Linked DNA regions of Homo sapiens: all the other regions are linked to region 2. Evidence: promoter capture Hi-C in 16 types of primary human blood cells and fetal thymus (Javierre and others, 2016). All regions are on one chromosome and are shown on one strand. Each heading gives the region's core, a stretch centred on a gene start or on the middle of the fragment in contact. The rest is flanking DNA. Distances are from core to core; before and after follow the strand shown. Region 1 overlaps CKLF (chemokine like factor). Region 2 holds the start of BEAN1 (brain expressed associated with NEDD4 1). Region 3 holds the start of CMTM2 (CKLF like MARVEL transmembrane domain containing 2). Region 4 overlaps CMTM4 (CKLF like MARVEL transmembrane domain containing 4). Region 5 overlaps CMTM4 (CKLF like MARVEL transmembrane domain containing 4). Region 6 overlaps CMTM4 (CKLF like MARVEL transmembrane domain containing 4).

Region 1 (4,995 bases), core at 201-2,700, 130 kb before region 2:
TTGTATATCAAACTTTAAGTTACTAAATGCAATTAATGCTGGGCGCTGTGGTGCATGTCTGTAATCCCAACACTTTGGGAGTTCAAGACCAGCCTTGCCAACATGGTGAAACTCTGTCTTTATTAAAAAATACAAAAATTAGCCAGGCATGGTGGTGAGCGCCTGTAGTTCCAGCTACTTGGGAGGCTGAGGCAGGAGAATTGCTTGAAGCCAGGAGACGGAGATTGCAGTGAGCCAAGATTGCACCACTGCATTCCAGCCTGGTGGAATTTTTTTTACTCCGTCTCAAAAAAAAAAAGGCAATTAATAAAACTTAAAATAGCACACACTTAAGAGAAAGTGGTAATTTTCAGGAAACCCCCACAGACATCTCTATGCAATGGATGACCAATTATGTTATTATTGCTGATGATATAGCTCATTCGCTTAATACTTTTACAAAGTAAAAATCAGTTTCATTCTTAACTGTGATGTCAAGAAGTGCAATTTTACATTTTTAAAATGGATGTGTAGCGTGGGAAAGGTAAACTGTCTAGCTGAGAAAGGTTTATGTATGTTTGCAGATAACCACAGGCAGGAAGGAATAACCCAAATAGCAAACTGCAAAACCCTGGTAATTTAGAAAAGCAGTTATTAGAAAGAAAGTAGGAACAGGTTCAATGGGGGTAGGGCAAGATCAGATATACTTAGGAAGAAAAAAGTTCTCATTTGTAGGAGATACTGAGACAACTATTCTAGGTTAACTCTCTTCTGTGTTGGATATTTGCTCTGCTTCAAAAGGCAACAGACCACACTCCTACTTCAGACAGGCAGCCTGCCTCCTGTGAGCAATCTGGGCAAGGGTTTATAGATGGCTTTGGATCAAAGTGGTGTTCTAGGGAGTGCAGAGAACCACAGGGGGAAAAAAAAAGATATGCCTGCCCCGAAACACCAATGATCCTCAAGAGTAATTTAGACCATTTATTTTATATTAAAAATGAAAACATCTATATGCCACAGAGTAGAATGTAAACTTAATTACAAAAATAGGGATTTCAAAGGAATTCTGAGCCTATGCTTAGATACCTCCTCAAAGCCATGGGTTGACTGGCTTTTTGTGTTTTCTGTCATTTGGGGCTCTCGGGGGGGAACAATCAGAGAAGGCCTGCTCTACAGACTGTTATCAGGGACAACAACTTTGGGACAATTTGAATGGAGATGACCAAGCCCTCTCCTAGTTAGCAAAGGCAGTGGCTAGCAGATGGAGGTACTTCTAAGTTACCTTTTCCCCACCTACAGATTAATTGGAACAGTCAGCCATCTCTGTGTCCTACACTTTAGGTAACATCCCCAGGCAACTTCTCCACCTGTGCTCTGGCTCCAATTCTACTCTGCAGGGACCTCACTCTATTCATTACTTTTATTTGTCCCTGGCCATATTTCCTCAGTTCAGAGATGACCCCTCTAGTTGTCTCTTTCCTTGCCTGCTCAGTCCTACAACTTTCCTGTCACTTGCCCACTGGAGGCAAACTCCTCTGGAAAAGGTCACCAGGGGGCAGAGAGAGAGAGAAAGTGTGTGTGTGTGTGTGTGTGTGTGTGTGTGTGTGTGTGTATACTTATCTTTCTGTTTAAATGTGTCCATTCTTCTTGAAATGTATTCCCATCTTGGCTTCGGTGACACCAGTCACACTTGGGTGCTCTCCTGCCTTTTCTGGCCACTCCTCATCTCATATGTTGGCGTTTCCCAGTTTTACCTTCAGCTCTCTCTACACTCTCTCTGAGCTATTGTGGCCAGTCCGAGCTCAGTTAATATCACGAGGTGATGATTCCTAAAACGGCAGCTCTAGCTCCTCTTAAGTTTCACACCATTTCTGAATATCTCCATATGAATATCTTTTAAGTAACTAAAATCTAGTATTTATCAAGCTAAACTCATTACATACTGCTCTCCTGCACCCTTCCTTAAACATATTCTTCCTCTCTCAGTATCCTCTCAAGACATGGAGGCTGATCATCTGATCATGCTACTCTCCTACTTAAAAACCTCCAAAAACTCCCATTAGCCTTTGGGTTAAAGTCCACAGCACACAAACCCTTGTATGCCCTGACCCTGTTTTCACAAACCTCACTCTTGCCCCAGCTCTTGTTCACAACTCAATACCCAACCATTCAGATACACCTGCAGGTCCTGGAGGGTCATGCTCTTTCTCCACCTAGACCCTCACATATGCTGCTGCTTTTCTAGCAGAAAAGCACTTTCCCTTCCCTGTATCAGTCATCTGCTAACTACGTTTCATCCTTCAGCCCTCAGTTTGGGCACTTTTTCTTCACAGCCTACTGTGACTTGGTCCCTTTCCCTTGCTGGGTTGCATCCACGCCATCCTAGGTGTATATCTCTCATAGCACCTATATTCTCTGTGTTGCTTCCTGGGTGCATTTAAAGTTTCTGAGGTACAAGGTTTTTGTTTTGTCTTAACCAAAGAACCAATTACAGAATCTAGGATTAGCAAATACTTAACATTTGCTGAATAAATAATTTCATTAGATCAAGATCAGAAAGGATTCTGGGTTTCGTAATGGAGCAAAAACTTAGTTACCCATATAACACCCCATTTCTAAGAGATACAATATCAGTAAAGTTTGATCCTTAGAGATTTGGGGACTATTCCTTTCAGTGTGCTACATATAAGCTACTCTCTCTCAGTGTATTCTGTTACACTCCTGGCTCCCAGTTTATTACTGGGACATGTAAGAAACTCCAAGGAATTATGTTTGGAAAAAAAGAAAGGCTAAAATGTGTTAGTTTTATTAAACTCTAGAGAAGCAGAGTGTGAAAAGCAACTATACAAGACCTAGAGGATGTGGACCAGTGTTCATTATCCTCTTGAAGAAATCTTTAGAAAAATTTAGTTTAACCCTTTCTGCCACTAAATGAGGGCCAACTGAGGAAGACTTTGTAATCTCTTCTCCTAGACCTCCCTCCAACGAAGTCCAGCTCTGAAGTGTACATCAAGTAGTTTTGAGAGGAGAGGTTCTATGAAGATCCTATTTCCCAGCTTTTCCCTTTTAGGACTTTTAAAAAGCTTATGATTTGCCTGAAATGCTTGCCACTGGCCTTGAAGGTGGTTCCAGAAGGTACCATTTAAAGGCATGCTTATGGTTTAAGAATAGCTCTAAAGTCTTTTCTTGTTAATAGGAATTATCAGCTTGGATATTAGCACTGTGGCATCCAAGAGGATGAGACCACTGCAGCCAAGGAAGACATGGCAGCAATCAGTCCAGCCAAAGAGGAGAAGGGCAGCAGGGGGATTCAGGAGGGAGACCTACAGAGACAGGATGCTGGGAATGAGACTTGCAAGAGGACAGAGGAGAAGTCACTCAGTTTTTCTTAGAATCAGCTTCTAGTCCAGGCTGAGGGGCTGCATACATCTTAACGAATAACTTCAATCTGCCCAATTTGACAGTTTTCAGAACCATCTGGGCATTCCACTGGGCAGTTATTCCTAATTATATGAGTATGGCAGGTTACAGTCTATATACTATGAAATATAAGAGGTGCCAACATTATTTAGTAATAACTACAGATATTTTCAAGTGAGATAACATTGTACTTTAGCCTCCCCAATTAGTTTGATTTTCCATTTAGTGACCAAAGATGTGCAAGGATAGATACTTGTGTATCTGTCTCCATCTCTATCCCAATTTTGAGGCCATATTAACATGCATCCAAATAGGTAATAAAGATTAAGAATGCACTACAATTTTGTTAACATGGTCCTAAATTTAAATTTCTTTAGAAGATCTATCCAAGTGAATTCTAACAGAAGCGTCAGCCACATCTACTGATAGATGGTGCAGAGAACTTATGCTCTGTGGCTGCCCTGCATCCTTGAGACCCTCTCCCAAAGCAATACAGGGCACATTAGCAATGGGTAGAGCTCCTCCTTCCTAAGCCTAACAGAGATTACCTTAAAGGTTTAAGAGAAGCAAAAAACAGAGTTCATTAGAATATCTCACTATGGTAGGAAAAAGTAAAATTTAAGGATGAAACTGAACACTTACAAGCAAAGGCCAAAATAACCACTTCATTAATCGATCAAGTCTGAGTACATATAAAAGTATGAAAAATAAGATAACGGTGACTTCAAATCCAGTGATAACAATATATGGTTCAGGGGCTTGTGCGATGATAAAAAAGGTCATAGATGTCACAGTTAGTGCCTAGAAGAAAAAAACCCACGATTTATTCAGTGACAACTGAATACAAATTTAAACTGTAAAAATGACAATTTCTAAAATAATAGGCTGGGCACAGTGGGTCATGCCTATAATCCCAGCATTTTGGGAGGCTGAGGTAGGAGGATCGCTTGAAGCTAGGAGTTCAAGACCAGCCTGGGCAACATAAGGAGACCTCATCTCCAAATAAACAAAAATAACCAGATACTGGGGTTTCTGCCATATACACACACATATAAAACAGCCATGCCTAAAGTGTATGATATTGACTTCTCTTTGTCTTTTAGAGGACTGGGTATTCCTCTCTGTTTTAAGTCCAATTAATTATTCCTCTTGTGCTTCTGACACTATCACTTCCCACATCAGTTCTCTTGATGTTTTTCCACCAAGTACCTCCGTTCCCCCTTGTACTTTCAATCTGTCCTCTGCTAGCTCCTTTTCTCATCATCCTAGAAACATCTCAGTTGTGTTCTTTTAAAATACACACACACATACTCCTTCCTTTTATCCTGCTCCCCACAGAAACCCTTGTTCTGTTTTCTACTGTTGTTATGCTTCTTCAAAAAGTCTGTATACTGGCTGTCTATAATTTCTTACCATCCATTTATCACTCCTTAATTCTTAACAATCTGGAGTCTACTGTCAGATTTAAACTTAGAATGCTGCCATGAAAAATACTGAGGAGCAAAGTTCAAAACAAATTGTCAGGGTGGGCGCGGTGGCTCATGCCTGTAATCCCAGCACTTTGGGAGGCCAAGGCAGGCAGATCGCCTGAGGTCA
Region 2 (4,900 bases), core at 2,401-4,900:
TCAACCTATACACTTGGCAAAAATAATAACAATAATAGACCATATGTTTGTAAAACACTTTATAATTTTGGAAGGCACAATAAGTGCTGGGTACTAGTCTAGGCTCTGAGGATATAGTGAACAAAACAGTCAAAAGTCCTTGTTCTTGCAGTGCTCACATTATATTGACGTGGGCATACAATAGACAAATGAATAAGATATATAGATGTTGGAGGTAATAAGTGCTCTAGAGAAAAATGGAGAGAAGAAGGATAGGTAATGAACAGGGAACTGCTCTTTTAAATCAGTTTGATTACTGTTCAAACAGGAAAACAAAATACGAAGGTGTCTAAAAATTCTATAGCCTGTGGACAATTAACATATTCTTTTTCAGTTCTCAGACATAAAATGATTGAAGATGTACATGAAAGAATCATTCTAATAACTGATTACATATCATCTAAATTACAATGTGGTAATTATCAGTTTTACAAACTCATACAATTAGGATGAGTCATAGTGATGTTTTAACTATTCTATACCTGGCAGAATTAGATAGTCCTTAAACGTTTCAAGCCTCAGTGTTCTCATCAATAAAATGGGAACAAGTATAGTTCCTAAATCAGAGAGCTGGTTATCAGAATTCAAAGAGAAAATGCATACGTTTAGGAAACAGCGTGTGTGCAATGCATGTTCACAATGTTGACACTGCAGGCCACTGGCAGAGGTCCACTGGACATGGCTATGTGCTATCTGTATATGATTTCTTCATCCTCACACTATTCTGGGAGGTGTGTAACATTTATTCCCATTTTCAAGAGGGAACTGAGGCTTTGAAAAATAAGTCACCTTCCCAGAACCACATGCTATAAACCCAGGCGGTCCAGCTCCAAAAAACTGCTCTCAGCCGTGACTCTTGTTTGTGCCTGCTTGCTAATGGACTGCAGAAGCCCTCCTGGCCTCAGTTTCTCCCTTTAGGAGGCTGACAGCAGATGCCCCTCACCCTATCCTCTGAGTACTTCCAGGGCAAGAGTTTCAGACAATGGTCCTCTGAGGGTGTCCGGCTGATTATTCCTAAAGCCTGACAGTAATGCCTGCATCCCCGTCACATTCCCCACTGGCTGTGTTCCAAATCCTGAGCGAAGCAGGAGACTCAAGCCTAATTAGTTCCTGATTAACTCCTTTGGGAAGATGAGGAGTGAGGATTTTGGAAGACACAGCGACGTGACCCCTAGTGGGTGAATGGGGAAGGGGAGGGGGAAGCTACAGAGGAAGAAGAGGAGAGAGGGAGATTCCGTGTAGGAGGCCCCAGGTGGCAGCTCATCTTGCCTGTCTTACCAGGTGTACCCTGGCACCATGTGGACATGTTTCCTCATCTGAGATTCCTCCCCCATCCCTGTTCTGGGCAGCTGGGCCAGAACACCCACACAGCACAGGTGGCCAGGGACCAACATGGGTGTGAACTGGACCACTGCTTTCTTCCCATCACTCCTGCCCGCCCACCCGCTCCTTGCCACCTCCAGGATCCCAGCATCCTCCCCTATCCCCTGGGCCTATGCCCTGCTCTGCTCTGGGTCTAAGGTCCCAGCCACACAGACTGGAGCAAATCCCTTCCTGGGGACACCCTGCTCTGAAGTTTGAACCTCTCAATCACTGGCTCCATTTCCTCCCCGACATCCTTCATTTCTGGTGCCTCATGGCCCAGTTGCCTGGACGAATACATCATAGTCTGCGAAGAATCAAGGCTGGGACCCCTCAGACCTCTAGGCTGTCTCCCTGGTGCTTCTTGCTGCCTGTCTGAACCGTCACCATCGGTGTGTCCAAGCCACCTGACAGCCTGATGGCTCCTCAGGGAAAGCAATCCTCCACCCGGGAGTGGAGGGAGGTGTTAAATTCCCTTGTACGGAGCTCGAGCAATGGGTGGGTGCCCCTCTCTGGGGCAGCGGACATCAGCTAAGGGCAAGGAGGAAAAGGGTGCACCTTACAGTCAGATGCAGCCTTTTCACCCTGGAGAGAGATGGGAGGTAGCAGGGGAGAACTGGGCTGGGCGGTAGAGAGCCTTGGAGGAGGGAGCGTCTGAGAAAGGGTGGGCCCTAAGGAGAAAGTTTTGCTTTGCAATTAAATGTCAACAGCTTGGGGAATTCAAAGGCCTCCTTGGAGGGGGCTGGGAGCACCACTTCAGATTCAGAGGCACTGAATCTCAGCATCTACTGGTGCTGGACACCTCAGGACACCTGTAGCCCACCACAATTGGCCACTGGCTGCGTGCCAGGCACCAGGCTACATACCCTCACCAGCATCATCTCATTTAATCCTCCCAACTCACCTTCCCCATGTTCCAGATGGGGAAACTAAGGCTCAGAGAGGTTTGTGTCTTGCTTAAGGTTGTACAGCCAGGAAGTCAGCCAAGCCCACCTTCTGGTTCCAAATCCCTTAAACATCCCGCTCACAACAGACTCCTGCTTACTTTCAGATGAGGAAACTGAGGCACAGGGTGGTGAAGTCTCTCGTTCCAGCAGAGCAGTTATGTTTGAGGAGTGAGTCCAGAGCGGCATGCTCTCGGCAGGGGCTCATCGGAAATCGTGGCTCAAGAGCAAGGATCCCTGAACCCCTGCCTCTCACACCAGTTACTTGCGCCCTCCCTTTCCCAGCCTGCGCCCCGCCACCCACGCCGGCACCCGCCCGAGATGGACAGGGCAGTCCCTGGTCCTCACCGCTCTCCAGCCTCCAGACCGCAGAGCCCGATAGGGAAGGAGGAAGGGCAGCGAGAGTCAGCCGGGTGTGGGGTGGGCCCTGCCCCTGGGGAGCGGCGGCGGTGCCACTCAGCGCTGCGCAGCCAGCCTGAGCTGCCTGCCGCCTCGCCTCGTACTCAGCCTCGGGTCCCTCTGACAGCGCAAGGGAAAGTCTGTCCCAAAGTGGGAGAAGGTGCGGAGGGCGCGCTCTCTCTCCGACGCTCGGTGCTGAGACAGAGGCACGGAGACAGGGGCATACCCCAGGCGACCTGCTCGTCGAAGGGTCAAACTTCCTAGCTCAAAGGGGTGCGGGTGGGTTCAAACTCCAAACTCCGTGAAGCCCCAGCCCCTTTCCTCTCCCACCCCGACCGAGAGTGCGCCCTAGTTTTCCCTTCTTGGTTGGGTTGTTCAGGGGTCCCCGAAACCGAGGGCAAGCTGCTGGGGAGGCTGTCTTGGGTTCCCCAAATGCGGTTGATGCTCGTCGGGGACTCGAGTCAGGCAGAAAACCTGGATACCTCCCCTTCCCCGAGGCCCGAGGGCGCGATCAGGGTCAGCCTCGGCTCGCGCAGATCCCAGTGGCCAGCCCGGGGTCGAGGGTCCGCGGGAGACCCGGGATCCCGCTCCGTTCCGAGCGCGCTGCGGTTCCGTTCCGGACCGCGCATCCGCCCGCCCCGCGCACCGAGGCTCCGCGCGGCGCGCCCCCGGGTGTGTCGTTCGCCGGTACCACCGCAGAGCGCGGGGGAATGGGGCCGGGACCCCCCGCCCGCCCCTCCCCCGCGCCGCCCAGCCCCACGCCCCTTACTCGGCTTGGCTGCAGCGCTCCGCTCCGTGCGCCGCAGTGCCGGCTCCAGCTTCGGCTCCAGCTCCGGTTCCCGCCCCGGCTCCGGCTCCCAGTCCGGTTCCCGCTCGGAGGCCACTGCGCTCGGGCTCGGGCGTCGCGGGGGGCGCGCCGCTACGCTTCGGCCTGCTGGGCGCGCAGGGGCGGGGCGGGGCGGGCCAGGCGGGGCCAGGCGAGCCGGGCCGACCAGCCGCCCGCGATCCCGGGCCGAGGCAGCGGCGGCGGCGGCTTCCCAGGCCCCGGCCCTGGCCCTGGCCCTGCCCTGCCGCAGCCCCGCCCGGCCGCCCGTCGTCCCCGCGCCGCCGCCCACGCCACCGTCACCGGCCCCGGCCCCCCTCGGCGGCGGCGCGGCTCCCGGGCCTCAGCACCGCGGCGCCGCGGCCCGGGTCACTCCGAGATGCGGGGCGGGGGGCGCGGGTGCGGGGGAGGGCCGAGCCGCGCCCCTTTGCGCACAGCCAGCCCGACACCCACACAGCAGCAGGCGGGGCAGGGCGGCGAGGAGGCCGGGAAATGCGGGAGGCCGACGCTCCAGTCAGACGTGTGAAGAGGACACACAGGCGTGTGTAGGGAATGACACACGGACGCGAGCGGGGAGCCACTGACACGTGCAGAGAAGGGTAGACAAACGAGGTGTCAGGGAAGGACAGCCAGACAGGTTGGACCGAGGCTAGGCTGGGCATTTGAGCAGGGGACCCCTGTCGCGGGCAAAGAGCAAAGTGCGGGATGGAGAGGGGGACCCAGCGTGGCTGGGCCGCTGGCAGGGGCAGGCGAGCCTGGCAGGGCTTCCCGCTCGCGGTTGCTGGCAGGTGAGTTTTGGGATTCCAGCTAGGCCTGGCCCAAACCTTCCTTCGGAGCCACCAGCAGGCCTGTTTCCTTCACCCCGTCACCCTCCCTGTGCCCCCGTTCCCCGCTGCCCAAACGTCAGGGCATAGGGCTCAGCCCTGGCAGGTGGAAGCCGGCCCCGAGGGGATGCCTGGCTCAGGCCGGGGTTCCAGGCTTCCAGGACCTGCTCTGTCCCCACCCTGCTTTGGGGCCTTGGACGAATCCCAGCCCATCTCTCAGGCCTCCCTGTCCTCATTAGGATATTGCTCCCAATGATTGCACCCCTACTGTGTTGGGGTGCTCGCCAGCGTGGAGGAGTTATTTATTTAACCTCCGCCACTTGCCTGGGAGCGCCAGGAGGGCAGCGTCTGGGTAGGGCTGCAGGGGTCTGCACAGAGTGGGCACTCAGTGAATTTGCTGCAGGAATTGATGAAATGTGTTGTTGCTAACACTCTCTGAACCACTACTGTTGATGAGGAAACTGGGGCTTAGGAGGCAAGGGGAGTCAAAAGCTGGGTTCGTTTCAAAA
Region 3 (4,628 bases), core at 419-2,918, 150 kb before region 2:
TTCTCTTAGATTTTCTGTGTAGATAATTCTATTAGATTTTTCCTCTTGTCAATCTCTATACCTTTTGTTTTTCTTGTCATATTGAACTAAGGTCTCTATCACAATGTTGAATACAAGAGAAGCTAGTAAGCATCTCTAAGGAAATGCTCCTGAAGTGTCACCTAAAATACAATTTGTGCAGGTTTGGATAGATGTCTATTTTATTTTATTTTATTTATTTATTTTTTGAGATGGAGTCTCACTCTGTCGCCCAGGCTGGAGTGCAGTGGCACGATCTCGGCTCACTGCAAGCTCTGCCTCCCGGGTTCATGCCATTCTCCTGCCTCAGCCTCCTGAGAAGCTGGGACTACAGGCACACATCACTGTGCCTGGCTTCTTGACACCTCTTTTATTATTTTTTAGACAGGGTCTCACTCTGTCACTCAGATTGGAGTGCAGTGGCACCATCAGAGCTCTCTGTAGCCTTGACCTCCTGGGTTCAAGCCATCCTCCCACCTCAGCCTCCTGAGTAGCTGGAACAACAGGCATGTGCCACCATGCTTGGCTAATTTTTAAATTTTTTTGTAGAGACAGGGTCTCCCTATGTTGTCCAGTCTGGTCTCAAACTCCTGGACCAAAGGGACCCATCCACCTCAGCCTCCCAACGTGCTGGGATTACAGGTGTGAGCCACCACACCCAGCCCAACAACCACTGATGGATGTTCTCACTCATTGTTCTGTCTCAATCTCTTATTTTCTCTCTCTCTGTGTGCTGTGTTCTGGGTAATTTCCCCATACCTTTCAGTTAACAGTTCCCTCCTTCAGCTATGTCTGATCTGTTTTTGAATTCATCTATTGACATTTTTATTTCAATAACTATATTTTCTATTCTAGACACTGTACTTTTTAAAAATCTGTCTATTTTGTCCTCATAGTGTCTTACTCTTTTCTCAGGACTCTTATGTCTATAATCCCTTAAAATATATTATTATTTTCAGACAGCTCTTCTATTATCTCATATTCTCAGGATTCTAATCCATTTGTTGTGTTTGTTGATTCTTAGTAATGGGGATTTTTTAAAATCAGGTGTTTAGTAGTTTTGAATTATTAGTTCATTTTTGACAAGGTTTTCCCCCCACCCCCACTGTGAGAATCTCTTCATGCCTTGATTGTGATTTTGCATTTGTTTCTATCAGGAGTCCAAGGATATCAGCAGAATGTCATCAGACTGGGATCAGTTTTTATGGTAATTCCCAGGGATGAAGGTTTCTGGGCTGCATGAAGGTTTCTAGGCTGCAGATAACAAAAATTCAAACTCCAATCTGTACAAAGGGCAGGCTTAAGCTTTCTATTTCTCAAGGAAGACTTCCTCTCCGCCCACTCAAAGCTCAGGCAGAGATGAACATGTTTTCTTATTCCTCTGTGTTGGGAATAAGAAGGGTATGTGTCTTTGTCCATCTTTTCCCTAAGGAGGTAGTCTTTCCAGGGCGCTGGCTTTATACAGGGTTTTCAGTTCTAAATTCCCACTTTGCTTAGGATCAAGGCCTTATTTCCTGACTTGAGAGTGCATGAAAATCCAGGCTGTAGGTTCCTGAGACAATACCTCTTGGACCATTCCCACTCATACTTTGTAGCTTATGTGATCACTGCCCTGTTTGCCATTTCTGGCGCCTGTGTGTTTTCATTTCTTTTTTGCCAGCTCATTCATTCAGTTAAAGCAATACTGGTTACATTTCCCCTGGTATTTTTAGGTAAGCACAGTGGGAAGATGTTCAGGGTTCATTGGTTTTTCATCTTGCTGGAACTAAAAATGTCTTCTCAGGCTCCTTGTTTAGGAACTTGTCCTCTGCCTGTCCTTTTACCTTGTCCTCTGCTTGTCCCTTTTCTGAGAGTCCTTATTTGGCCCTCCTGTCCTTTCTCCCTGTATCGGAGGTCCTCATCTGCTTCACCAAGACCTCTGGATCCCTGGACCCTAATAGTTTTTAACAAGAAGGCAGGATGAAATGTACTCATAAAGCTAAGTTTGAAGCTTTTTTCTGCTACTTACCAGCTGAGTGACCTGGGGGCAAGTTACTTGGCCATTCTAGGCCAATTTCCTCATGTGTAACGTGAGTGAAACAGTGAACAAGAGGGCTCTGGAGGCAGGCTGTGAATGTGCAATGAACAAAGGGACTTGGGAATTGGGGTCTTCATTGACTGGCAAGGGGTTAGGTGGTTGTGCCCTGTGGTTAAACAGGTGATGGGCAGGGATTCAATTCCATGAGTCCTCAGGCACGGTGTCAAGCAATTTACATTTAATCCTCAGGATTGAATGTCAGTTCTGCAAGGAATGTGACTGTCTCATGTTACAGATGAGGAAACAGGCTGGGAATGGTTTAGTAACTTGCCCAGTTCTGTCTCTTTCCACTAGATGACTGCTTTGGGCTGAACATCCTTCTGATCCAAACATCCTTTATAGGGATATTCACTGGAGACCTAACGCTGCTTTAGAAGTGATTTTTAAAAAAAATTCCCATTTTGTTTTATTTTATTGACTTATGGGAGAGTAATTTTCTTCTTTGAATTTTGGGAATGGGGTCCTTCTGGGGTGATCTCCTGTCAAGTGTGAGCTGGCACAGGAGTTCGGAGGAACAGCTGGTTGCTACACCTCCCCTTCCCCTAAAGAGAACAAAGGCTCAGGCCCTCTTTGACCACCAGGTAAGTAAGAGTTCCCCACTCTCACTCCAACACACAGATAGGCTTTTTGGAGCATTTTCTGCCTAGCTACCCCTCTTGCACCCAGCTGCCTCTGCCTGGGCCCCACTGATGTTCTGAGTCCCTGACCCAGGCACAGATATGGGAGGTGAGGTGTGTCTCTCTGTTTGGTGACTTTCCAGGTGCCAAGACACACCTGATCAGCATTCTGGATGCAGGCACTCCCCATCACCCCTTACTTACAGAAATGGGCCACAGGATGAAGGGTATGTATCTATGAATGGCAAAGCTGTACAGTAAGATGAAGAAGCTGAAGAAGGATATCTCCATGGTGATGATAAGCCTCAAGATGGGGTGCACGGTGAGTGAGGACAACAGTATCATTGCAGCTATTAGGCAGCCCTGCAGTGAGACATAGACACCTGAGCCAGCAGCAAGGGCCTTTCACCATCTCTCTGAGGACCCCTGGAGCCTACTCCTCCTTCCCCCCACCCTCGGCCAAGGCCCCCCACCCAGGGATACCAGTTTAGCTCACCAAACTCCGAATCTTGATCTCAGCGTGCCCCAAGAGCCAGAACTCTTTATTGCTGTCTTTTAATTCCCACCGGTAGCGGCGACACCCCCTCCTCGTGCCCACTTCGTGCTTGGGCTGCACCGCCTTTTGAGGTTTGTCCGATGGCTCCTTATGGTCCTGCACCGCCTTTTGAGGTTTGTCCGATGGCTCCTTACCGTCCTTCTTGTCTTCCTCGGGTTTGGCCCCGGGTGGAGGTGGAGCTGGTGCTGGCTCTGGCTTGGCCCCCTTTGCCGCCTTAGGTGCCATGACTGACTCGGTGTCCTTGGCTTCTCACAGCTGGCCTGTTTCTTCTCTCTCCTGCTGTTTCTGGGTAGGCCAGGCCTACTAGAGTGCCTGGTGTCCACCGAGCGGCTCAGAGGGCGTGCTCAGCTAACTGCCAGGACCACCGAATGCCAACTCCCGCGCCCTCTCCACGCGCGCCCGTCTCCTCGCGCAGCTCCCATCCGCCCGGCAGCGGCCGGATCCTCCCACCCTCCACGCGCCGGCCCCCGACGGGCCCCAACTCCGTTCCCAACCCGCCGGTCCCACCTCCGCGCGGAGCTGCCCTCGCGGTCCCATCCCGGCGTCTCCAGGTGGCCCCAGGTCTGTAAGCCGCCGCTCCGCTGCGGGGTCGGGGGGCTGCGAGCACCGGGTCACGGCCCTGAGCTCCGCGGGCGCAGCGCCAAGCGCAGGAAAATACAACGCGACTTTCACACAAGGCAACGAGAGGAAGCAGGTGTTCTCGATAAAAGCAGCAGCCCTAATTTTATGGTCACATTTAGGCTGGAATGGGTGACAGCATGCGAGCTCGGGGGTGGGCTCGGAGGCAGCGATTCGACAGACACGTGCATCTGCTAGGGCGCCGGGCTGGCTTCAGGCGGGCCTCTGCGGGGCGTCGGGGCCGGTTTCGGGGTAGGCGTCCTTGGCGGGGGAAAGCTTCCTTTCAACTTCGACTCCCAGGAATCTTTTCAAGTTGGTCCTCATCTTCGTGGTGACCACAAACGCATCGATGCAACACACGATTACCGCTGTGAGACACAGGGACTGTCAGATACAAGACCATATGCGGGAAGGAAAGACGGGGTTATTTTGCAGCTCAGTAGCAACCTCTCGAACCTATCCCTATCCAGGGTGGGCGCTGCGGGTGGCCTCCTGTCCCCTCTGACCCTTCACTACTTTCTTGGCGCCTGCCCAATTGGCTGCTGCAGGCGGATTCTGCCTTTCCCAGAAAAAGGGATTTTGGAAGTGGGGGATTTTGTTGCCAGTAGTAGCCTCGCTTGATGTCTGAGGCACCCGGAAAGGACTAGGGAAGGGCAGTGGCCCTAGGTGGCTGCAGGTAGGGGTTAGGTCCTGAGAAGCCCTCTCCGTGGAAAGACTTTTGGGCTATGTTTGCAAAGGGCAG
Region 4 (5,139 bases), core at 272-2,771, 220 kb before region 2:
GATAGATGGATAGATAGAGAGAAGGAATCAAGACCAAAAGAAAAAAGCAGCATATTTGCTCCCTAAGGAGCTTGTTCACCAATGCATCCCTAGAGTTAGGATCGTGCCTGGCATGTAGTAGATCCTCAGTTAATTTTAGCTGAATAAAGGGATGGTACTTGCCTAAATACTACTTTAAAAAAAAAATGGACTTTTAAAACATAAAGGCAAATGTCCACACCCACCTCAGGAACTTTTTCTTTTTTTAAGAGACAGGGTCTCACGCTATTGCTGGGACTGTAGTGCAGTGGCTATTACACAGCCATGATCATAGCTCACGGTAGGCAGCCTCAAACTCCTGGGCACAGGCGATCCTCCTGCCTAGGCCTCCTGGGTAGCTAGGACTACAGGTGTGCACCACTGTGCCCAGCAACCTCAGTCACTGTTTAGAACATAGTGTCTGGGGGCTAAGATTTCTCTTTTCTTTTCTTTTCCTTTTCCTTTTCTTTTCTTTTTTTGACAGAGTCTCGCTCTGTCAGCCAGGCTGGAGTGCAGTGGAATGATCTTGGCTCACTGTAACCTCTGCCTTTTGGGTTCAAGCGATTCTCCTGCCTCAGCTTCCTGAGTAGCTGGGATTATAGGCCTGCGCTACCACACCCAGCTAGTTTTTGTATTTTTAGTAGAGATGGGGTTTCACCATGTTGGCCAGGCTGGTCTTGAACTCCTGACCTCAGGTGATCAGCCTGCTTCAGCCTCCCAAAGTGTTGAGATGACAGGCGTGAGCCACCGTGCTCGGCCTGGGGGCTGAGATTTATTTCTTTTTTTTTTTGAGACGGAGTTTCATTCTTGTTGCCCAGGCCGGAGTGCAATGGCGTGATCTCGGCTCACTGCAGCCTCCGCCTCCCGGGTTCAAGCGATTCTTCTGTCTCAGCCTCCTGAGTAGCTGAGATTATAGGCATGCGCCACCAGGCCCAGCTAATTTTATATTTTTAGCAGAGATGGGGTTTCACCATGTTGGTCAGGCTGGTCTTGAACTCCTGACCTCAGTTGATCCACCAGCCTCGGCCTCCCAAAGTGCTAAGATTTCTTAAGATATTAATGATGAGGAAAAACTCAGATCCAGGAAAAATATTTTCATTCCCAAACAGATGAAGGCACCATCCTCGTAGCAGTTGGGAAAAGCAAGAATACTAGGTAGTAACAACCAAGGTTCATTTTTCTGCTTACTCTTTCTAGCCCATGTGTCCTCACTGCTGGTAGAGCAGCTACATTTCAGAGCTTGCTGGGCACTGTGGTGAAGGGAGGTCTCTGGAACATCTCATACTGGCAACAAAGTCTTCCACCTGAAAGTGATGCACTTGGCAGCTCATTAGCCAGAAGTAGTCTTGTGGCCCCACACAAATTCAAAGGATGCGGGGAAGGTGCTGGATGGTGGAGAACCACAAATATTTGGCAGCCAGCATTAATGACTCCTACAACCCTAATGACAGCTGTCTTTTATAGGATGAGAGTTGCTTTGGATTCAAGTGAATACAGACAAAGTGCATTTAAAGCAGTGGGTCACCATCACTGTAAATAAAAATACCACTTTTATCAAATGATTTCACAACTTCTCTCACACAGATGTCTAATGAGTAATCAAAGAACAGCAAAGCTGGGTGTGGTGGCGTGCACCTGTAATCCCAGCTACTCGGGAGGCTGAGGTGGGAGGATCTCTTGAGCCAGGAGTTTGAGTCCAGCCTGGGCAACATAGTGAGACTCATTTTTTTTTAAAAAAAGAAAGAACAATAGTTTGAAGTTAGGTTCTCTGGTGTTTTGTGTGGGTGATTAAGGCTGGATCCTGAACTTCTCTGAGTAGCACTCAGAGAGATAGATGTTCACATTCCTCATTTGCTCTTTTGTCCAACTTCTTCCCCAGTCTCCTCACAGTTGGCCCTGCGCACACCTTCCTTACCCCCAATGGTGTATCAGAAGCAATGCTCACGTATTTCTAGGTGATGTCATAGATTGCTTTTTTAGATGGAAAAACAGGGTAAGTTTTTGACTTCTCAGATGACTGACAAGATTAAATCTGGACTAAAAAGAGAACTTTCTTTTGTGAAAACAGGCTATAATTGTGAAGCCTGTGTACTTTTTAAAAGGACTTTTTTTTTTTTTTTTTTTTGAGACAGAGTCTCGCACTGTTGCCCAAGCTGGAGTGCAGTGGCATGATCTCGGCTCACTGTAACCTCCGCCTCCCCATTTCAAGCGATTCTCCTGCCTCAGCCTCCTGAGTAGCTGGGACTACAGGCACCTGCCACCACACCCGACTACTTTTTTGTATTTTTTTTTTTTTTAGTAGAGGCGGGGTTTCACCGTATTAGCCAGGATAGTCTTGATCTCCTGACTTCATGATCCACCCACCTCGGCCTCCCAAAGTGTTGGGATTGCAGGTGTGAGCCACTGCACCTGGTCAAAAGGGCTTTTAAAAAGTCCTGACCAGGCTGGGCGTGGTGGGTCACGCCTGTAATCCCAGCACTTTGGGAGGCCGAAGTGGGTAGATCACCTGAGGTCAGGAGTTCGAGACCATCCTGGCCAACGTGGTGAAACCCTGTCTCTACTAAAAATACAAAAATTAGCCGGGTGTGGTGGTGCACACCTATAATCCCAGCTACTCAGGAGGCTGAGGCAGGAGAATCGTTTGAACCCAGGAGGTGGAGGTTGCAGTGAGCCAAGATCGCACCATTGCACTTCAGCCTGGGTAACACAGCGAGACTGTGTCCCAAAAAAAAAAAAAAAAATTCATGAATGGTTTCAAAACAAGTAAGGATTGGTTCTTAGAGGTCACTAAAATTTAACTCATAACCTGGATGTTTCAAAAAAGTGTCCATACATAGGGCATTTAATTTTTTTTTCTAATTAAAAACACATATACTCTTTGTAGAAATTTTGGAACATGAAAGCGGGCTCAATGAAAATAAACCTATCCACATTTCTACCATATAGATGGGTTTACTATCAATATTTTACTATAGATTCTTCCTGAATCTATAATATATACATGTGATATATTTACATACATGCAGTTATATACAATGTGTACATATATGTGTATATATTATATGCATGTATTATAAATACATATATGTATGAATATGTATATTTCTTACATATTCAAACACGACAGGAGTGTTAATTAAAAAAGGTAAAATCTCTGTGATTCCCCTGTTCCCCACCTAATCCTAATCCATAGAGAGGTATTGATTTTTTACTGTTTAGCTTAAATCCTTCAATGCACATAAATGTGTTTGTAAACACAAATATGCTTATTTTTTGTTCTTCACCAAAAATGGGGTCACTTTATGCCTTGTGTGCTGTACTCTGTTCTTTCTCTAAGTATCCCTTGGACCCTTTCCCCGCCAGTCCACAGAATCCCCCATCTCTCTGCCTTGTGTTTCTTACTGTATGTAGATGTGCTGTTGTTTATTCACCATGGCTCTCCTGCTTTGTTTGTTTGTTTGTTTGTTTTTGAGACAGAGTCTCGCTCTGTCGCCCAGGCTGGAGTACAGTGGCGCAATCTCAGCTCACTGTGACCTCCACTTCCTGGGTTCAAGTGATTCTCCTGCCTCAGCCTCCCGAGTAGCTGTGATTACAGGCGCCCACCACCACACTCGGCTAATTTTTGTATTTTTAGTAAAGACAGGGTTTCACGATATAGGTCAGGCTGGTCTCGAACTCCTGACCTCAGGTGATCCAGCTACCTAAGCCTCCCAAAGTGCTGGGATTACAGGCGTGAGCCACCACAGCCGGCCTGGTTACTTTTTAATACGACACACAGTGCAGCGTCATACATGTGCATTTATTCATAGGGTACATAGTCCTAGAATTTCTGGGTCTAAAGGTGTGCACAGTTACAGTTTTTTGTTTTTTGTTTTTGAGATGGAGTCTCTGTCGCCCAGGCTGGAATGCAGTGGCGCAATCTTGGCTCACTGCAACCTCTGCCTCCCGGGTTCAAGCAGTTCTCTGCCTCAGCCTCCCGAGTAGCTGGGATTATATGTGCCCGCCACCATGCCTGGCTAATTTTTGTATTTTTAGTAGAGACAGGGTTTCACCATCTTGACCAGGCTGGTCTTAAACTCCTGACCTCATGATCCACCCGCCTTGGCCTCCCAAAGTGCTGGGATTGCAGGCGTGAGCCACTGTGCCTGGCCATGTTTTTTCTTTGAGATGGAGTTTTGCTCTTGTTGCCCAGGCTGGAGTGCAGTGACGCAATCTCAGTTCACTGCAACCTCCGCCTCCCAGGTTCAAGTGATTCTCTTGCCTCAGCCTCCCAAGTAGTTGGGATTACAGGCGCCTGCCACCATGCCCAGATAATTTTTGTATTTTTAGTAGAGACTGGGTTTCACCATGTTGGCCAGGCTGGTCTCAAACTCCTGACCTCAGGTGATCCGCCTACCTTGGCCTCCCAAAGTGCTGGGATTACAGGCATGAGCCACCGTGCCCGGCCAATTTTGACAAGGATTGGGAGATCACTGTCTGCATGCCATGCTGGTCTGTACCCTCACCATCAGTGTGGAAAATGGCCTGATTTGACATTTTCTCACCAGTATGGGATATCACTTTATAATTTTTATGAATCGAGTAGATGAAAAGGGTACCTCAGTTTGCATTTCTCTTGTTGGAAGTGAAGTTGAGCATCTGTTGATGTGTTTATTGGTCATTCCCCTCCCCCGCCCTGGGTCTGGAACATTGCAGGCTGCTGTGGCAGGGAAGGAGCATGGTGGAACTGTCTGTAGTTCCAAAAGGCTGCTGCCAAGGGTCACGACAGGGGTCTACCCCACTCACACCTCATTGTCCAAACCTAGCAGTAGGTACAGGTTTTGAGGAGCTTAAGACTCATGATTTTGGAAAAAGAAAGACAAAAACACAAGACAGGTACAATAGTGAATATTGTTTTAAAATAAGAAACACACTAAATGACAAAGGGGGGGCCTTCTTTTGACATCCAACAGGAAACAATAAATTACAAATTTAAAAAGCATTTTCTTTCTGTTTTTGTTTTGGCCTCCACTGCAATAGATCCTTCGTAGATTTGAACTTCAGTATGATCAGTAATTCTGAAAAAGTATACAAAGTCTACCTGACATTTCGGTGTACACAAGTGCAGTTCAGATTTTAGGT
Region 5 (5,143 bases), core at 2,491-4,990, 240 kb before region 2:
GCTGCCATTTTGAAAATTGCTTTGTTTCCTTCTTTACATTATTTTTGTTTCATGATTAAGTGGCAAAATTGAAGGCTTTATTCTCTACTTTGAATCTAAAACAAATAGTTAAGGCTGATTTAGAATTCGTCATATAGGTTTGAATTAAACAAATCTAATAAAGGAGTGTGCACCATTTTCTTTCTGAGAGCATTAAAAAATCCAGCAAATGGCTGGGCACAGTGGCTCACGCCTGTAATCCCAGCACTTTGGGAGGCCGAGGTGGGTGGATCACAAGGTCAGGAGATCGAGACCATCCTGGCTAACACAGTGAAACCCCATCTCTACTAAAAATACAAAAAAAAATTAGCCAGGCATGGTAGCGAGTGTCTGTAGTCCCAGCTACTTGGGAGGCTGAGGCAGGAGAATGGCGTGAACCTGGGAGGCAGAGCTTGCAGTGAACTGAGATTGCTCCACTGCACTCCAGCCTGGGTGACAGAGTGAGACTGTCTCAAAAAAAAAATCCAGCAAATGTTTGAGCTATAGAGGTTTGGGCACATGCCAAGGATGTTGGTGGTCTTCACATGCTCTTTTTTTTTTTTTTTTTAATTAACATGTAGTAAATTGACTTTTTTTGGTGTACAGTACTATGAGTTTTAGCATGCACATATATTCGTGTAGCCACTACCATAATGAGGATACTGAACAACAGTTTCATCAACCCACAAAACTTCCTCGTTCCCTTTCTTTGTAGTTACATCCAATTCTTGGCAACCTCATCTGTTTCTCATCAGTATAGTTTTGTCATTTCCAGAATGTCACAGAAATGGAATCATAAGTATGTACTTTTAAGACTGTCTTTCATTCAGTGTAATGCATTTGATATTCATTCATGTTGTATTTTATGAATAGTCATTCCTTTTCATTGCTGAGTAGTTTTCCATTGTAGGCATGTCCCACAGTTTCTTTATTCACCTGTTAAAGGGCATTTGAGTTATTTGCAACTTTTGGTGATTATGAATGGAGTTACTGTAAATATTCATACCATTTTTTTCTGTGAATGTAGGTTTTTATCTCACTGGGGTTAATACCCAGGAGTGAAATTGCTGGGTCATAGAGTACGTGTTTCACTGTACAGGAAACAGCTAAGCAGTTTTCCAGCGTAGCTATACCATTTTGTATTCTTCCCAGCAGTACATGGGAGTTCCAGTCGCTCTGCCTCTTGGCTAGCCCTTCATAGTCCTTTTTTTTAAAGCTGTTGTAATATTCTTTTTGTTGACGCAGATGAGAAATTAATTTTATTAGGAATAATATAAAGAAATAAATACCAGCAAGTTTCTCAACTCTTCAAAACTCATGGTGATTTTAAGGTAATAGTCAAAAGCTTATTTAGGGACAGTGAAGTGTTGTCATCTGTTTTCCTCAGAGATCCTAAAATATATGACATTCTAGATTTCCAAGTTCAACAATTCAAATCTTACTCATAATATTATGACACTTTAAAGTTATCCAGATTTTATTACATTCCAAATGCCAAAAATGAGGAGTTAAATCAAATTATGTATATTTACTTTAGGATCAACAAAAAATTTTAGTATATTCTAAGAATAGTAAAGAAAAAGCAAAAACATGGACAGATATTTCCAAAAACAATCCATAAGTTCTGTGGTCATAGCAACTCTACAAAACACCAGCAAGGCATCAGAATGGCCATAAGCAGAACTTAGTTTGTATAGAATCAAGCATACAAACCAACCAGAAAATGGGGCTGGGCATGGTGGTTCATGCCTGTAATCCCAGCACTCTGGGGGGCTGAGGTGGGAGGATCACTTGAGTCCAGGAATTTGAGACCAGCCTGGGCAACATAGCGAAACTCTGTCTTTACACAAAATTAAAAAAAAAAAAAAAATAGCTCTGTTGGTGGTGTGACCTGTAGTCCTAGCTACTCAGGAGGCTGAGGTGGGAGGACCCTTGAGCTGAGCAGTTGGAGGCTTCAGTGAGCAATAATTCTGCCACTGTACTCCAACCTGGGTGACAGTGAGACCCTGTCTCTCAAAAACCAAAAGCAAAACAAACAAACAAAAAACTCACAAAAAAAACAAAAAAACAGGGAAAAGTTTTGGTTCATATAAAGCAAAGAAAACAGAAGAAATATTATTTCCAAAGATGGTAACTACTTTTTTTTTTGAGACAGAGTCTCGCCCTATCAGCCAGGTTGGAGTGCAGTGGTGTGATCACGGCTCACTGCAACCTCTGCCTCCTGGTTCAAGCGATTCTCCTGCCTCAGCCTCCTAAATAGCTGGGATTACAGGCACACACCACAACACCTGGCTAATTTTTTGGATCTTTAGTAGAGACGGGGTTTCACCATGTTGACCAGGCTGGTCTTGAGCTTCTGACCTCGTGATCTGCCCACCTCGGCCTCCCAAAGTGCCGGGGTTACAGGCATGAGCCACCGCACTCGGCCCTTTTTTCTTTTTTAAACTTTGTAAAGTTCATATGTTAATATCAAAAGGTAATGTAAGGGAAGCTGATATGCATTTTGAACTGTGTGTAAATGCATCTTATGTATGTAGGTGTGATATTACATATGACGACACATTTCTACAAAGAAAATGGAGTCATTTAATATCACAACCTGAAATGTAGTACATAGCAGGTCCCTAGTTCATTGCTTTATAAAACCTTCACGTTTGTTATTTTATTTTACAACTTTTATTTTTTTATTTTTTATTTTATTTTATTTTTTTGAGAGGGAGTCTTGCTCTGGTGCCCAGGCTGGAGTGCTGTGGTGCCATCTCAGCTCACTGTAGCTTCTGCCTCCCAGGTTCCAGCGATTCTCCTTCCTTAGCCTCCCGGGTAGCTGGGATTACAGGCATGTGTCACCACACCCAGCAAATTTTTGTATTTTTAGCAGAGATGGGATTTTGCCATGTTGGCCAGGCTGGTCTCGACCTCCCGACCTCAGGTGATCCGCCTGCCTCGGCCTCCCAAAGTGTTAGGATTACAGGCGTAAGCCGCTGTGCCCGGCCCCAACTTTTATTTTAGATACAGGGGGTACATGTGCAGGTTTGTTACGTGGGTATATTGCACCCAGGTAGTGAACATAGTACCTGATAGGTAGTTTTTCCACCCATTCCTCACTCCCTCCCTCCCTCCAAGTAATCAGAGGTGTCTGTTGTTTCCGTGTTTATGTCCACAGGAGTTTAATGTTTAGGTCTCACTTATAAGTGAAAACGTGGTATTTGGTTTTCTGTTTCTGTGTTAATTTACTTAGGATTATGGCCTCCAGCTCCATCCATGTTGCTGCAAAGGGCATGATCTCATTCTTTTTTATGACTGCCATTGTAACATTCTAATAGGTGTGTAGTGGCATCTCATAATAGCTTTATTTTGCATTTCCCTAAAATGGCTAATGATATCAAGCATTTTGTGCTTATTTGCCATCTCTTAGGTGAAGAACCTGTTCAAGTAATTTTTATTGGGCAGTTTGTTTTCTTACTATTGAATTTTGAGAATTCTTTATATACTTTGGATACAAGACTTTTGTCAGATACGTGAGTTGCAAATATTTTAACTCTGTGGCTTGTCTTCTTCTTTTTTATTTTATTTTATTTTTTTTGAGACAGAGTCTTGCTCTGTCGCCCAGGCTGGAGTGCAGTGGCGTGATCTCGGCTCACTGCCAGCTCTGCCTCCTGGGTTCACGCCATTCTCCTGCCTCAGCCTCCTGAGTAGCTGGGACTACAGGCGCCCGCCATGACGCCTGGCTAATTTTTTTGTATTTTTAGTAGAGACGGGGTTTCACCGTGTTAGTCAGGATGGTCTCGATCTCCTGACCTTGTGATCCGCCTGCCTCGGCCTCCCAAAGTGCTGGGATTACAGGCGTGAGCCACCGCACCTGGCCTGTCTTATTTTCTTAACAATTTCCTTTGCAGAACAAGTTTCTTTCTTTCTTTCTCTTTCTTTCCTTTTCCTTTCCTTTCCTTTCTTTTCTGTTTTTTTTGAGACAGAGTCTCACTCTGTCGCCCAGGCTGGAGTGCAGTGGTGCAATCTCCGCTCACTGCAACCTCCGTTTCCTGGGTTCAAGCCATTCTCCTGCCTGAGCCTCCCAAGTAGCTGGGATTACAGGTGTGTGCCATGATGCCCTGCTAATTTTTTGTGTGTTTTTAGTAGAGACGGGTTTTTGCCATGTTGGCCAGGCTGGTCTCGAACTCCTAACCTCAAGTGATCCACCTGCTTCAGCCTCCCAAAGTGCTGGGATTACAGGCATGAGCCACCATGCCTGGCCTTTTTTTCTGAGACAGAGTCTCGCTCTGTCTCACCCAGGCTGGAGCGTGGTAGCATAATCTCTGCTTACTGCAGCCTCTGCCTCCTGGGTTCAAGTGATTCTCCTGTCTCAGCCTCCTGGGTTCAAGTGATTCTCCTGTCTCAGCCTCCCGAGTAGCTGGGACTACAGGCATGTACCACCACACCCAGCTAGTTTTGTATTTTTAGTAGAGATGGGGTTTCATTGTGTTGGCTAGGCTGGTCTTGAACTCCTGACTTCAGGTGATCTGCCTGCCTGGGCCTCCCAAAGTGTTGGGATTACAGGTGTGAGCCACCGTGCCCAGACCAAGTTTCTAATTTTGAAGAAATTTTATCCATTTTTTTTCTCATGGATTATGCTTCTGGTGTCATGTCTAAAAACTATTCTCAGCTTATAAAGATTTTATCCTATGTGTTCTTCTGAATTTTATTGTTTAACATTTTACATTTAGATCTATGATCCCTTTTGAATTAATTAAATTTTTTTTTTTTTTTTTTTTTTTTTTTAAGAAACAGGGTCTTGGCCAGGCATGGTGGCTCATGCCTGTAATCCTAGCACTTTGGGAGGCTGAGGTGGATGGATTGCTTGAGGTCAGGAGTTCGAGACCAGCCTGGACAACGTGGCAAAACCCTGTCTCTACAAAAAAATACCAAAACAATTAGCTGGGCATGGTGGCATGTAACTGTAATTCTAGCTGCTAGGGAGGCTGAGGTGGAAGGATCACTTGAGCCCGGTAGGTCAAGGCTGCACTGAGCTGTGATTGCACCACTGTACTCCAGGGCTACAGAGGGAGACTCTCTCTCGGAGAAACAGGGTTTTGCTCTGTCACCCAGGCTGGCCTTGAACTCCTGGCCTCAA
Region 6 (4,574 bases), core at 1,255-3,754, 200 kb before region 2:
ATTTTTGGATGGATTGTGGGACTTTGATATATATATATATTTATATATATATATTTATATATATATATATTTATATATATATATTTTGAAACGGAGTTTCGCTCTTGTTGCCCAGGCTGGAATGCAGTGGCACAATCTTGGCTCAACGCAACCTCCACCTCCCAGGTTCAAACGATTCTCCTGCCTCAGCCTCCCGAGTAGCTGGGATTACAGGCATGTGCCACCACACCCGGCTAATTTTTTTGTATTTTTAGTAGAGAGGGGGTTTCTCCATGTTGGTCAGACTGGTCTTGGACTCCCAACCTCAGGTGACCTGCCCGCCTCAGCCTCCCAAAGTGCTGGGATTACAGGCGTGACCCACCGTGCCTGGCGATATTTGTTTTTCTCTGTGTCCTAGGAGCTCATACACTCACATGTTCCACCCCTGTTTACTTTGATTAGTGCCACGGGGCTCCTCCTTTCCTCCCCTTCCCTTCTGGGATGTGGCGCTATCTAAAAGGCGTGTCTGATCCTCCCCCATCCCAAAAGCCTGCCAGTGGCTCCCACTCAACTGGCCCCAGAGCCCAGGGCCAGCTCAGCCCCACTTCCCAGAAGAGGAGGTCTGCACTTGCCTTCTCTACTTCCCCCTCTCCTAATCTCACTTTTCTAATCTCTTATTGTCAAATTCTGAAAAAATTATGAAAGTAAATATGGAGTTTAATATACAGCCACCACCTGGGTCAATAAATAGGAGATTGTCAACACCCCAAAAGCTTCCCATGTGTATTTTCCAGCTAAACACACCCCCTGCCCCTTCCCCCAGTCCACCATCCTGACTATGTGGTGGTCTTCCGCAATTCATCTTCAGCCCACTCCAGTCTGGCAGCATTGAAAGTCCCCTGGTCAGGAGCCTGGGACGGGGCCTCCGTGTTCCTAGATCCTCTGGTTGCTCTTGGGTTCTCACCCCACTCAACATCCTGGTGGTGTCTGCTATGGGGCACTCTGTCCTTCCTGCCATACTCTCTCACCTTGCATCCTGGGCCCCCACACTGTCCTGTTTTTCTTCTTCCGCTTTGGTCACCCTTTCTTAGTGGGCTCTGTGGCCCTGGAGGCCTCTTAGGCCTCTATCTCAGAACCCAGGCTGGGTGCTGTGGTGGGTTGAGAACAGTTGGCAGTTACCCACAGGGGCCACTGGCTGAGCCCTGAGCCCTAGGGCGTGACTCGTCTTGTGTTTTTTTATTTTATTTTATTTTATTTTATTTTTTTATTGATCATTCTTGGGTGTTTCTCGCAGAGGGGGATTTGGCAGGGTCATAGGACAATAGTGGAGGGAAGGTCAGCAGATACACAAGTGAACAAAGGTCTCTGGTTTTCCTACGCAGAGGACCCTGTGGCCTTCCGCAGTGTTTGTGTCCCTGGGTACTTGAGATTAGGGAGTGGTGATGACTCTTAAGGAGCATGTTGCCTTCAAGCATCTGTTTAACAAAGCACATCTTGCACCGCCCTTAATCCATTTAACCCTGAGTGGACACAGCACATGTTTCAGAGAGCACAGGGTTGGGGGTAAGGTCATAGATCAACAGGATCCCAAGGCAGAAGAATTTTTCTTAGTACAGAACAAAATGAAAAGTCTCCCAAGTCTACTTCTTTCTACACAGACACAGCAACCATCCGATTTCTCAGTCTTTTCCCCACCTTTCCCCCTTTTCTATTCCACAACACTGCCATTGTCATCATGGCCCGTTCTCAATGAGCTGTTGGGTACACCTCCCTGACGGGGTGGTGGCCGGGCAGAGGGGCTCCTCACTTCCCAGTAGGGGCGGCCGGGCAGAGGCGCCCCTCACCTCCCGGACGGGGCGGCTGGCCGGGCGGGGGCTGACCCCCCACCTCCCTCCCGGACCGGGCGGCTGGCCGGGCGGGGGGCTGACCCCCCACCTCCCTCCTGGACGGGGCGGCTGGCCGGGCGGGGGGCTGACCCCCCACCTCCCTCCCGGACAGGGCGGCTGGCCGGGCGGGGGCTGACCCCCACCTCCCTCCCGGACGGGGTGGCTGCCGGGCAGAGACGCTCCTCACTTCCCAGATGGGGTGGCTGCTGGGTGGAGGGGCTCCTCACTTCTCAGATGGGGTGGCCGCCGGGCGGAGGGGCTCCTCACTTCTCAGATGGGGCGGCCGCCGGGCGGAGGGTCTCCTCACTTCTCAGACGGGGCAGCTGGGCAGAGACGCTCCTCACCTCCCAGATGGGGTCGCGGCCAGGCAGAGGCGCTCCTCACATCCCAGACGGGGCGGCGGGGCAGAGGCGCTCCCCACATCTCAGACGATGGGCGGCCGGGCAGAGACGCTCCTCACTTCCTAGATGGGATGGCGGCCGGGCAGAGATGCTCCTCACTTTCCAGACTGGGCAGCCAGGCAGAGGGGCTCCTCACATCCCAGACGATGGGCGGCCGGGCAGAGGCTGCAATCTCAGCACTTTGGGAGGCCAAGGCTGGCGGCTGGGAGGTGGAGGTTGTAGCGAGCCGAGATCACGCCACTGCACTCCAGCCTGGGCACCATTGAGCACTGAGTGAACGAGACTCCGTCTGCAATCCCGGCACCTCGGGAGGCCGAGGCTGGCGGATCACTCGCGGTTAGGAGCTGGAGACCAGCCCGGCCAACACAGCAAAACCCCGTCTCCACCAAAAAATACGAAAACCAGTCAGGCGTGGCGGCGCGCGCCTGCAATCCCAGGCACTCGGCAGGCTGAGGCAGGAGAATCAGGCAGGGAGGTTGCATTGAGCCCAGATGGCAGCAGTACAGTCCAGCTTCGGCTCGGCATCAGAGGGAGACCGTGGAAAGAGAGGGAGAGGGAGACTGTGGGGAGAGGGAGAGGGAGGGGGGAGGGGGAGGGTGAGGGGGAGGGGGAGAGGGAGAGGGAAAGTCTTGTGTTTTTTTTTTTCTGACACCAAATACATTTTCCACACCAAGCTGTTCTGTAATCCTTTGACACTGACTGGGTGTTTAACAATTCCGTTCAATTCTGACACTAACTCTCGGAGTTAGCACAGATCCCACAGACGAGGGCCCAGTCCCACAAGATGGCCCCACTTTAGACACCAGCTGCAAAAGGGGTGCCCAGGCACTTCTGTCTGGCTGAGTACAGATTCGATGGTTTCCACCACCCCTCAGGTTCAGTCATTTTCTGCAGTGACTCACAGGACTCAGGAAGGGGCTTTACTTAAACAATTACTGATATGTTTTAAACGATACAACTCAGGAACAGCCACATGGGAGAGATGCATAGGGTGAGGTCTGGAGGGCCTCAGATGCAGGAGCCTCTGTCCTTATGGAGTCAGAATGAGCTCCACTCAGAAGCTCCCCAGACCCCATCGTTCAGGTATTTTTTCTGGAGATTTCACTAGGTAGGCATGACTGATTGGCCATTTGGTGATTGAACTCAATGTCCAGCTCCTCTAACTTCCCTGGAGGTCCAGGGGATGGGGCTGAAAATTCCAACTCTCTAATCACCTGGCTGGTTTTTCTGGTGACCTGCCCCTATCCTGAAACTGTCTACCACCCTCTTCCCACAAAAGTCACTTCGTTAGCATAAACTCGGGTATGATTGAAAGGGACTCATTATGAATAACAAAAGATGCTCATATCACTCAAGAGATTCAAGGATTTGATTAAATATTTTTCATTATAGCACACTCATTCTTTCTGGGACCCAGTTTCCTCATCCATGAAAGTAGAGCAAAATAACAAGTCCTGTCTTGTGGGCATTTTGGATCATAATTAGGTTAGAATTCACTGGGAGCGATATGATTGGCACAGTGACTCCATAGATGGTAGCTGCTACTGTCATCAACATTATAATTGTCCCTTTGATCCTGGGGCCATTCAAGCACAAGTGAGTGCAAAGGATGGGTCGAGTGCTTGCAAACGTTCTTGTCTCCTGGATGGATAGGACAGAGGCTAGAGCCAGCCACCTAGCACATTGGTTTGGGGGCCAACCAGGATTGCAGTGACAGCCCCCAGCTGATTCTGTGTACAAATATTTCATTTGTGATCAGTTCAGCCTTGATTTGTTTCATGGCCCAGGAACTCAAGTGCTTGATGCTGACTTAAGATTTGCAGTATTCCAGTATTAAGCCTTTCAAGTTGTGTGAGTAATAAGTGCTTATTGTAAAACAAAACAAAACAAAACAACAAAAAAACCCCAAAAACTAGAAGATAATAGATAATTTAAAAAAAATCATCTGATGACCCAAGAGAAATGAAAACTTGTTCACACAAAAGCTTGTAGGTTCATAGCTACATTATCTATAATAACCAAAAAGTAGAAATAAATGTCCATCAACTGATGAAGGATAAATAACGTGGTGTATCTATACAATGGAATATTATTCAGTAATAAAAAGGAATGAGTACTGATACATGCTACAACATGAATAAACCTTAGAACCATTATACTAAGTGGAAGATGTAGGGGAAAAAAAGAGAGATCAGACTGTTACTGTGTCTATGTAGAAAGGGAAGACATAAGAAATTCCATTTTTACCTGTACCTTGAACAATTGCTTTGCTGAGATGCTGTTAATTTGTAACTTTGCCCCAGCCACT

Evidence for each region. The method cuts DNA at HindIII sites, captures the fragments that hold promoters and counts their contacts. A CHiCAGO score of 5 or more calls a contact.
Region 1: a fragment that was not itself captured here is called in contact with the fragment with the promoter of BEAN1 in region 2 in 8 of 17 cell types (total B cells, total CD8 T cells, naive CD8 T cells and 5 more); the score reaches 7.8 in total B cells.
Region 3: a contact is called between a fragment that was not itself captured here and the fragment with the promoter of BEAN1 in region 2, in 16 of 17 cell types (total B cells, naive B cells, total CD8 T cells and 13 more). The highest score is 22.0, in total B cells.
Region 4: a fragment that was not itself captured here is called in contact with the fragment with the promoter of BEAN1 in region 2 in 13 of 17 cell types (total B cells, total CD4 T cells, activated CD4 T cells and 10 more); the score reaches 10.3 in total B cells.
Region 5: a contact is called between a fragment that was not itself captured here and the fragment with the promoter of BEAN1 in region 2, in 7 of 17 cell types (total B cells, naive B cells, naive CD8 T cells and 4 more). The highest score is 9.7, in total B cells.
Region 6: a contact is called between a fragment that was not itself captured here and the fragment with the promoter of BEAN1 in region 2, in 16 of 17 cell types (total B cells, naive B cells, total CD8 T cells and 13 more). The highest score is 19.6, in total B cells.

Annotation. Positions count from the first base shown.
Region 1 is chr16:66,557,395-66,562,389 of GRCh38, reverse strand. CKLF (chemokine like factor) reads right to left here. Exons shown (of 4, transcript NM_016951.4): 2 at 4,042-4,200. It overlaps CKLF-CMTM1 (CKLF-CMTM1 readthrough), which reads right to left. Exons shown (of 4, transcript NM_001204099.2): 2 at 4,042-4,200. Among named protein-coding and RNA genes, the nearest start is that of CMTM1, 6.5 kb to the left of the region's middle. The HindIII fragment of the contact is 3,229 bases long and covers 1-3,064 here.
Region 2 is chr16:66,426,045-66,430,944 of GRCh38, reverse strand. BEAN1 (brain expressed associated with NEDD4 1) reads right to left here and starts at 3,650. Exons shown (of 5, transcript NM_001178020.3): 1 at 3,514-3,650. RefSeq lists an enhancer at 2,222-2,822. The HindIII fragment of the contact is 13,321 bases long and covers 1-4,900 here.
Region 3 is chr16:66,578,473-66,583,100 of GRCh38, reverse strand. It overlaps CMTM2 (CKLF like MARVEL transmembrane domain containing 2), which reads right to left and starts at 3,638. Exons shown (of 4, transcript NM_144673.3): 1 at 3,209-3,638; 2 at 2,917-3,075. The coding sequence starts at 3,493. It overlaps CKLF-CMTM1 (CKLF-CMTM1 readthrough), which reads right to left. Exons shown (of 4, transcript NM_001204099.2): 4 at 3,966-4,270. The coding sequence ends at 4,100. It overlaps CMTM1 (CKLF like MARVEL transmembrane domain containing 1), which reads right to left. Exons shown (of 4, transcript NM_052999.4): 4 at 3,966-4,270. The coding sequence ends at 4,100. The HindIII fragment of the contact is 685 bases long and covers 1,326-2,010 here.
Region 4 is chr16:66,644,328-66,649,466 of GRCh38, reverse strand. All of the region lies in intron 1 of CMTM4 (CKLF like MARVEL transmembrane domain containing 4), which reads left to right. Among named protein-coding and RNA genes, the nearest start is that of CMTM3, 42 kb to the right of the region's middle. The HindIII fragment of the contact is 8,901 bases long and covers 1-5,139 here.
Region 5 is chr16:66,664,911-66,670,053 of GRCh38, reverse strand. All of the region lies in intron 1 of CMTM4 (CKLF like MARVEL transmembrane domain containing 4), which reads left to right. Among named protein-coding and RNA genes, the nearest start is that of CMTM4, 29 kb to the left of the region's middle. The HindIII fragment of the contact is 4,749 bases long and covers 1,366-5,143 here.
Region 6 is chr16:66,628,599-66,633,172 of GRCh38, reverse strand. The region is part of intron 2 of CMTM4 (CKLF like MARVEL transmembrane domain containing 4); the gene reads left to right. Among named protein-coding and RNA genes, the nearest start is that of CMTM3, 26 kb to the right of the region's middle. The HindIII fragment of the contact is 3,499 bases long and covers 755-4,253 here.